2 separate regions of the Homo sapiens genome follow, and region 2 is linked to region 1. The links are contacts of gene promoters, found by promoter capture Hi-C in blood cells and fetal thymus (Javierre and others, 2016). All regions are on one chromosome and are shown on one strand. Each heading gives the region's core, a stretch centred on a gene start or on the middle of the fragment in contact. The rest is flanking DNA. Distances are from core to core; before and after follow the strand shown.

What was found. Contacts are between HindIII fragments. The CHiCAGO score rates a contact against its expected background, and 5 or more counts as called.
Region 2: a contact is called between a fragment that was not itself captured here and the fragment with the promoter of WIF1 in region 1, in 1 of 17 cell types (endothelial precursors). The highest score is 6.2, in endothelial precursors.

What each region holds. Positions count from the first base shown.
Region 1 is chr12:65,119,881-65,124,536 of GRCh38, forward strand. It overlaps WIF1 (Wnt inhibitory factor 1), which reads right to left and starts at 1,425. Exons shown (of 10, transcript NM_007191.5): 1 at 1,164-1,425; 2 at 537-676. The coding sequence starts at 1,311. RefSeq lists a silencer at 1,586-1,745. The HindIII fragment of the contact is 2,494 bases long and covers 1,011-3,504 here.
Region 2 is chr12:64,866,222-64,870,922 of GRCh38, forward strand. TBC1D30 (TBC1 domain family member 30) reads left to right here. Exons shown (of 12, transcript NM_015279.2): 10 at 543-682; 11 at 4,381-4,587. It also overlaps the pseudogene RPL7P39. Among named protein-coding and RNA genes, the nearest start is that of LINC02389, 15 kb to the right of the region's middle. The HindIII fragment of the contact is 823 bases long and covers 2,862-3,684 here.

The DNA of each region.
Region 1 (4,656 bases), core at 175-2,674:
ATAGGCTGCAATATTTTATAACGTTCTTACATGACACCTTTTGGGTCTAACTTCTACCAGAAATATGCAACATTCACGTTCCAGTGAATAACATTCAACATACTGACTTTTTAAAAGTGCACAATGTCAAAAATACTTACAAACTTTAAAATTTGTTGTAAAGTATGAAGAATGTCACAAGTGATTAGAAACTACTATGCAAAAAGAGTCCTTTAAGTATGTTAAATTTTAATGTCAATGATCACAGAAACACAGTGATGTTGGTATTGGAGGTCTTTATATTTCCAGCAGCCTCAGGACACTGAGTCTTATCAAAATAATGGGCTTAGGCACAAGGCTTGTTCTTTTCTTTTGAAGATCATTAATTGATATGGCAACTTGAAATAAATGGAAATTAATTCTTTATTTGCTTTGGCAATCAGATGAGAAATTTCTCTTAATAACTGTAAAATGTACCAGGCTACACACTATACAGTACTATTTCCACCTGCCATAAGGCAGTGGAAATATTAAAGGGTAATTTTCTCAGAACTTACCTGCCCTGCAGCTTGCCAGGTAAAATTCATGGAATGGATATTGACAGGAATAGCTGGCATTCTCTGTTGTGCTTTTCTGAAATCATGTGTAAAAGGTGCCATTTTCCCCTCTGAAACAATCAGGATATCTTCTTCAAATCCTGGTTTTTAAAATAATAAAACGATCAAACCAGGTAGACTTGAAATCATCTAAATCAGAAGTTTCAAGCAAAAAGAAAACCAAAGAATTAGTGTGGGTCATTTCTGTTCACAAGCATCTGCCTTCAGTACCATCAACGCTACTAAGATTAATTTTTCTCTGTGGATGATGAGAATGATGCCAACAGACCCATGCTTTCAGGGAAAAGGGATGGACATGGAGTTAACCGACGCAAAAAAATGCCGGGTGCACCTAAAAACGCAGGGCTATAAAAATTAACAACAGCATGATCAGAACACTAGATCAGCTTTGGTTTCTTAAAAGAGAAGTTTATAAGCTTTCAGATGGAAAATATCTAATTAAAAGAGGGGAACACTCTTTTGTGGAAATTAAGTTTTAAAACACAAGAAACGCAGGTATCCCTCTTTCTTGAAGAGTGGAGAGAGGAGGACATAGGCAGGGGAAGGCGCTGGAGGCGGGGGCCTTACCTATGAGTACTCTTGCCTGGTGAGCATCGATCCATAGGTACAGGCTCTCCTCCTGCGGCGGCCCGGCCTCCGCCCGCAGTGCCAGCAGGCACAGGAGGATGCTCCAGAGCCAGAGCGCGGCGGCAGGGAAGGCGCTCCTCCGGGCCATGCTGCTCAGGACCTCCTCGCTGCCGGGAAAACTCCTCGTGCCGCACCTACGCAACCTGGCGCCGTCAGATACTCTGCTGCGCTGCAGCTCCCTCAGCCAGGGCTGTTCCCGTTTAGACGGCTGGGCGCGTCGCCTCCCGGCCTGGGTGCCAAGGAGCCTGCGAGAGCAGGAGGAGGGGGCAGGCAGGACGCGGGAGGAGGAGGGGGGGACCAGCGGGCGCGAGTCGCGCAAGAAGATGGGGCGCGGGCGGGAGTGGGGGCGGCAGAGACGTAAGACTGGCAAAGCTGGCGAGGCCAGCAGTCAGCGGGGCAAATAGAGCGAGAACAGAAGAGCGGGAAGGGCTGGCGCGAGCGAGGTGCGAGCGAGGAGTGGGGCCCGCGAGGCCTGGGCGGCCGCCACTTGGGGGCGCTGTGGGGCCCCCCCGGGGGCGGGGCCGCGAGGGACCCCCGAGGCTGCATTCACAGTGCGGTGCGCCCAGTGGAGCGCCCGCGAAGTGGGCGTGTAGGGCTGGCGGACCCGGAGAAGGGCACTCAGAGACCCCTGGGACATCACTCGCCACCTCCTCGGGCCAAGGGAGGCTTCGGGGGAGGGAAATGGGGAGAGCAGACAACGCTGGGCTTGACTGAGTGCTGATGATGGTGATGGTGATGGTGATGATGATGATGATGATGATGATGAGGTGATGACTCCTGTTCCTCCTCCGGCGCTCACTGAAGGCGCAAATTGCCCTTCGTCTCCCTTTCAGCCAGTAGGATTCCTCTCTCCGCCAACCCTATGCGCTCCGTTCTGCGATAGGCTGGCACTTTGCGCGCTCCCAAGCAGTTAAAACTCGAGGCTCGACTGTCCGATGGTGCCGATGGCAGGCGCTGGCCTTGGCTCGAGGCGCAGGGCGTCCAGCTGGTACTTGCCCGACACCCAGCATTTGGGGATTCCCGTCTGTCTCCCTGATAACCCGGCAGTGCCCGGAAGAGTGCCCTGGGCCCTGGACGATAGCTGTACCTGACCCTCCGGGGTAGGGCTCCTCTAACATCGTGGATATCTTCACGTTTGCTGATATTTTTTAAAAGTTGCTGAATTCGGCCGGGCGCGATGGCTCACGCCTGTAATCCCTGCACTTTGGGAGGCCAAGGCGGGCGGATCACCTGAGGTCAGGAGTTCGAGACCAGCTTGGCCAGCGTGGTGAAACCCCGTCTCTACTAAAAATGCAAAAATTAGCTGGGCATGGTGGCGGGGGCCTGTAGTCCTAGCTACCCGGGAGGCTGAGGCAGGAGAATCACTTGAACCGGGAGGCGGAGGTTGCATTAAGCCAAGATCGTGGCACTGCACTCCAGCCTGGGCGATAGAGCGAGACTCCGTCTCAAAAAATATATAAATAAATAAATAAAATAATTTTTTAAAAGTTGCCGAATTCACAGGTGCGTGGGGGCAAAACCAAGGCTCTGGCCTCGTCTGTGAGAAGCATGCTTGGCCGGCAGTGGGCTGCAGCATAACCTATCCACCTGGCCCAGCAGAAAGAACTGATTTTTGCCTCCTGCCTAATTCCTCGGATGCACAAAGAAAACGGAAGCAAAAGGGTTTTGTTTTGTTTTGTTTTTAATTAAAAAACTTAGCCTTCGGACTCATAAAAGGTTCATTTACTTGTGTTTGTTCTTTAGTACCCGAAGCTGTGACAAATGCCTCAAGGATCAAATGTCTGGGGCTGGGCGTGGTGTTTCAATCAGTCCTTTATAGAGTAGCAGATGCCTCAAGAGGGAAAAACAAACAGAAACAACAGAAGAGATGGTGGACATGTGCAGGCATCAAGTTAAATCAGTGTTAGGTTCTGAGAATATAGATTTCCAATGAGGAAATATTTGCAGCTATACAACCAACCAATAGAAAAAAAAAAAAGGAAAAAAGGAATTAGACAAGAAGTCTATGACTGATTTGAACTTGCAGTGTCTTAATTTTTAAAGTACTTTTATTTTAAGTGCTTACTTAATCCTCACAACTCTTAAGTAGGTACTACTATTATTCTTATTTTACTGACGAGGAAAGAGGGCTCAAAAAGTCCAGTAAGTTGACTGTGGATATCCAGCTGGTAAATGAGAGTAAGGGTTCAAATCCCAGACACTCTGATTTCAAAGCCCATTCTCTTAGTAACTTATACCTCATACTGATAAATAAATCATAATTAAGTCTATTTGCATCCAAAGCTTCACAGTGATTCTTCCTTTACAATAAAAATATTTACCTGTTTCCCAACATTGCATTATTTTTTATTTCTATGAATATTCATGTATATAATGTATGAACATTAGGCTACTTTTAAAACACTTTAATGTTATAATGCCAGTGTCACCCAGGTAAAGATAATAATTTCACAGCACAATAGGCATTTTCTTTAACTCGGAGCGAGTGGTTTTAACATTTTTTTCTAGTTCTGCGCAAACCTCTATGGCTCTTGGTGCAAGGACGCCCTCTACAGGTTTTCCTAATCAAATACTAATTGAGAAATATTCATAAAATTTATTTTTTGGTGCAAGAAAAAGAGGAACTAAATTCTCTCCTAACTCGGTTTCCTCTGAGTGAGGTTCTTCTGCAGCAGTTGAATTTGGTGTTGATAACAATGGTAATCTATCTTGCTATAAGGACGTTTTTTTTCTTCCAGAATGGTTGTTTTCTGTTTACTTCTCTCCAGCACAGGACACTTAGAAAAATTATATTTTATTAGAGATAGATAAAGAGAAATGCTATTTAAAAAATTTTTGATATAAACTCGTTTGGTTATTAAAGGGGACAAAGGAACACATGTTTTGTTATACAACAGTGATTTTTAAGGGTAGCAGCGTGGTTCTTTTTGTAGGGAGGTCTATCTCTAAGAGATGAATCAGGCTTGACTCTCCTTTCTGTTGTTAAGGAGCAGTTATGTAGCTATTTCATTAAGAATTGATTTAAGTTTTTAAATTTCTTTAAACAAACATGTGACAATATTTACTAGCATATGATAAAAATTTGGAAATAATGTGCTAGGCAAGTCAACTTCATTTCGTTTGAAAATTCTGCCATTTATTTTCCAGTTCATTATGCTTCCTTTCCTTGTGCGATTCCCTCTCATCAATTATGTGTGCAGGCAGCTTCATTTATTTGTTCATTAACTCATTTGCTTATTCAACAAAGATTTATTAAACAGCTATTATATGTAAGACACTGACCTGGAAATTATAGTACAAATAAAACATGATCATAGCCTTCAAAGAGCAATAGAGCTACTAAAATAAGTAAGACAAGTACCTAAACAACCATAATACAAGGCAGAATGTGGTGATTGTTGATAAGGCAGAATGACTGGAAATTCATAGAAGA
Region 2 (4,701 bases), core at 2,023-4,522, 250 kb before region 1:
CTAATAGTTATGCAAAAAGAAGAGAAAAATAAAAGCATGTAGTCATATTTGCTTATGTGTGCTCAGAGAAACTGAAGAATACATAAGAACCAGTAACAGTGATCACCTGTGGGAATTAGATGGGAGATTCTCACAAATGACCATGGTTACTAGTTTCAATGGGCAGAAGTTGGACAGAGATGGGAGGGAAACTTTATAAATCACGTCATTATATATAATTCTTTTTTTTTTTGAGACGGAGTCTTGCTCTGTCGTCGCCCAGGCTGGAATGCAGTGACGTGATTTGGCTCACTGCAACCTCCGCCTCCCGGGTTCAAGCGATTCTCTAGCCTCAGCCTCCGAAGTAGCTGGAATTACAGGTGTGCGGCACCACACCTGGCTAATTTTTATATATTTTTAGCAGAGATGGGGTTTCACAATGTTAATTATATGTAATTCTATGTTAATTATATATATGGCATTTAAACCATGTAACTGTATTATGTTTTAAAATACCATGGTTTTCTTTGTATATTTCTTTTTTGTCTTTTATGTTTTCCAAGACGACATAGTAAGGCCAGAGACAGTGATGAAGAGAATGACCCAGACGATGAGGATGCTGTCGTTAATGCAGTGGGGTGTCTTGGACCTTTTAGTGGGTTCCTGGCTCCTGAACTGCAGAAGTACCAAAAACAAATTAAAGGTAAAGAGGTGGCTCTTGATTTAGATTATCATGATGTATTGGTTTACTACAATAAGAGTGATATTGTGTCCTATAGATGCCCCAGTAACTTTCTGAACTGGTTACAACTATTAAAAGTCTTTATTAGGCTAGTCATGGTGGGTCATGCCTGTAAGCCCAGCACTTTAGGAGGCTGAGACAGCATGATCATTTGAAGCCAGGTTTTCAAGACTAGCCTGAGCAACATAGGGAGACCCAGTCTCTACCAAACAACAACAACAACATTAAAAAGTCATTACTAGGCTGGGTGTGGTGGCTCACGCTTGTAATCCCAGCACTTTGGGAGGCTGAGGCAGATGCATCATGAGGTCAGGAGTTTGAGAGCAGCCTGGCCAATATGGTGAAACCCCGTCTCTACTAAAAATACAAAAATTAGCTGTGGTGGTGCGTGCCTGTAGTCCCAGCTGCTTGGGAGGCTGAGGCAGGAGAATCGCTTGAACCCAGGAGGCAGAGGTTGCAGTGAGCCGAGATCATGCCACTGCGCTCCAGTCTGGGCAACAGAACAAGACTCCATCTCAAAAAAAAAAAAAAATTGTTACTAAAAGTATCTTCTCTGTTACTTTATCTTTTTATTATGTAATGGTTTTCCTCTGTATTATGTGTTGCATGCGTAGTACACATTTCTTTTTCTCTGTGGTGACTTTTGCTCCCATGCATTGGATTCAACTTTGTATGCTAAGTTCCTTAGCACAGACCCTGGCATATAGTAGATGCTTAATATACTCCATCTGAGTTTAATTTATTCCAGACTGGCTTCTCTTCCAATAGGATTACCCTTTAAATCAAAACATTATGGTGACCTCTACTTGAATTTCTTGAGTGACAAGAAACTTATTATTTCACAAGACACTTTGCTTGATTCTTCCCCTTAGTCCATGGTTTCTGTTTACAAAGAGATAACTTCCACCTACCCGTTCTACTAATAGTTCTTCTCTTTGCTTTTTTTTTCTATTTGAAGGCATCACTGTTTATTAACTGACCAGATTACAGAAATAATCATGGTAGACCCCTTAGTTCATCCTTCTAATAAGCCTGTAGCTCTTCTCTTCCCTATTGCCAGCATTTCTACCTTCCACAAAATAGGAGGTCTTTTTCTTCATTCCACCTTGTGGAGAGGATAATCTGAAGGGTCACAGGAAGTTATTGGCTTCTTTGAAGCCTTTTCCAACAGTATAGATCTCATGAATCAGATCCTCCATGCAGATGATATCATATTTACCAAGAGATTGAGCAATCAAAGTGTTATCTGTCATGGCAATTTGCTTCTTTTCGATTTTGCTATAATGACACTTGTAGATGAGTTCATTTACTTACTTTAGGTTTGGGTACCGCCATGAAATGTATGGTTCTCCAATCCTCACCATGTTAATTGAAGCCTTGCTGAGCTTAACAAAGATTCCATTGAAGATCTGACAAAGGTGAAGAAACTCCACCACCTTTCAGACCTTTGGGCTCACACCATTGATACCTCTGATCCTTAGGGAAAATGACAGTTTGGGTTCTGTAAGAACATAGAAGTTGCCAGCTTTTCTTGCCCTCCTAGCCATTTGAATCTCAGTTCTGTTCATCTGCCTGTATTCCTTGTGACTGTGTTTAGCTTTTTCATAGATAAGCTTCCTCCTTGCCTTTTGAAGCATCTTTTCGGCAAACTTCTTTCTCAGGTGCTTGATCTTCAGCTCTGCAAAATTCCTTTGCTTTTTCTTAAGGGCTTCTGGCATAGCAGGAACCTTCTTTTTCTTCTCTTCGACACCCTCCATGGTTCCAGCTGGAAAAGAGGATTCTTCCCTTTGGAAAAAACCAGAACAAGTCTACTTACTCCCTCTTCTACCTGACATCTCTTCAAATCTTTGAGGACAGCTATCATGTCCTCCAAAGCTTTCTCAAAGGCCCCAGTTCAGAATTTCTTTAAGCATGTCTCTTAAGTTATGACTTCTGGACCTCCTAATATTCTATTAATTTACCTCTAGATATCCTGTAATTTGGTAATGTTCCCCTTAAAATGTTGTGCTCTGAATCACATGCATGTTTTATTTCATTTTTTTTTTTCTAAACAGAATAGAATTCTGTGGTCTGGAATTATCAATGTTATGCACTGTTTTAAAGTTTGTGGTTCTCTACGTCCTTTCTTGTCTTGGGTGGAAGCTTTTCTTTTAGGATATTTATTCTACCTCTTCTAGTTTGAAGACCATTCTCCTTGTTCAAAGATATTAGAAATATGCTGAAAGAGGACAGAAACTGAATAGATGTCAGGCACCTCTGTGTTCTCTTTGCCATCTGCTAACTTTTTACTACCTTCTTGAAGTCATGGGGCTATCTTCTCTTTTTTTGGTTCTTATTTGGAAGATAGGAGCAGTGGCAGCAGCTGCTGCTACTTCTAACTTTTGGTGGTGATCTTTTGGAGTATTTCCTGCAAGCCTCAGCTTGTTTGAGTTTTAACCTTTTTAATGGCTGGGCTCATACTGTTTTGTGAGTATGTCTTTGGTATGTGCTCTTCTGTCATCCTTTTAAAGGCTTTTTAAAAATCTGAACCCAACAAGAGTCTTCTTGATTTCTGCAATGCCTTCTACCCCCTTTCTTATTGCCTGAGTTCCAGCTTTTGATTTCTAGCCATAGGATCAATATGTATTTTAATGGTAAAGTTTTTGAATCTGCGTTTCTGTAGCCTGGGTCTATGTTTCATTTTTTTTTCTCTGTTTTTCTTTCTGTGCATTTTTGTGCTCTAGGATGACATGATCACTTTCTCCTAAATTTCATCATTAGTCTTTCTTGTTGATTTTGCTCTGATTAGCAGTTTCTCTTTTAATTTTCTTCTCCTTACAGAAATGATTACAGTAAAAAAATGAATTTCTGAGATGTTTAGCCTTTGTCTGAATAACACTCTCAGCAGATGTTAGGATAGTTGGAGTCTCTCAGTCTTTTTTTGACTCTGGCTCCCATGTCAGTTTTACAAATTGTGCTGGAGAAGCTTGCTGTCTCCCGCTTTGGCCTGTGTAGTCTGTGGGTTACTCCCACCTAGTATTGTTTCTCTTTTTTGGAGGTCATCTCAATTTTATTTAAGAGACAAATCTGCTAGTTGTAGCTATCACAGGAGCAGACACCACATCCGATATAACAACAGAGTGGACAGGAAATGTTTGTTAAATGAACAAAGCATTCATTCTAGTGATACAGTGGTCTGAAGTCTTGATAATTTTATAAATTGTGTTACTACCTTTAATGTAAGAAGAATGCACTTTTAATGACTGTCTAAACTCTACAAACCAATTCTGTATAAATCCTCATGCCGTTGTGTGGAAATCTGTACAGTGATTTTAGAAATTAGGAGTTATATCTTTCTAAGGAAATCTTAGACAATGGCAGTGATTTTCATCTGGAAGCAGTTGATGTTATGTCTATATAGCTAACAAACTGGTAACAAAATCAAACTCTGAACCCATATAGCTCATGTCAGACCCACAGTTAGGTTAATAAGAAAATGCAGAAATATTTTCAGGGGCACATCAAAATAAGCACTAGACAAACTCTAGTATGCGTTTTTTTCTGTGGTTTAGAATTTCATGGAGGTTAAGATACCGCACTGAGTTGTAGTGTTATCAATTTCCATTTACTCCTGTTCCCCTCCACCGACCATCTCCTTATGTCTCATCCTTCGAGCGCAGAGCCAAATGAGGAGCAGAGTCTGAGATCTAATAACATTGCAGAGCTGAGTCCAGGAGCAATCAATTCCTGTCGAAGTGAATACCATGCAGCTTTTAACAGTATGATGATGGAACGCATGACCACAGATATCAATGCACTGAAGCGGCAGTACTCTCGAATTAAAAAGAAGCAACAGCAGCAGGTTCATCAGGTGTACATCAGGGCAGGTAATGTGATTCTTCATTTGAATCAATTTCAGCTCTATCTCAACTTGTAAAATGAAGAACAAATAATCCTAGGAAGGCCTTGGAATTACTAACTGTAGCTCAGTATCCATCAAC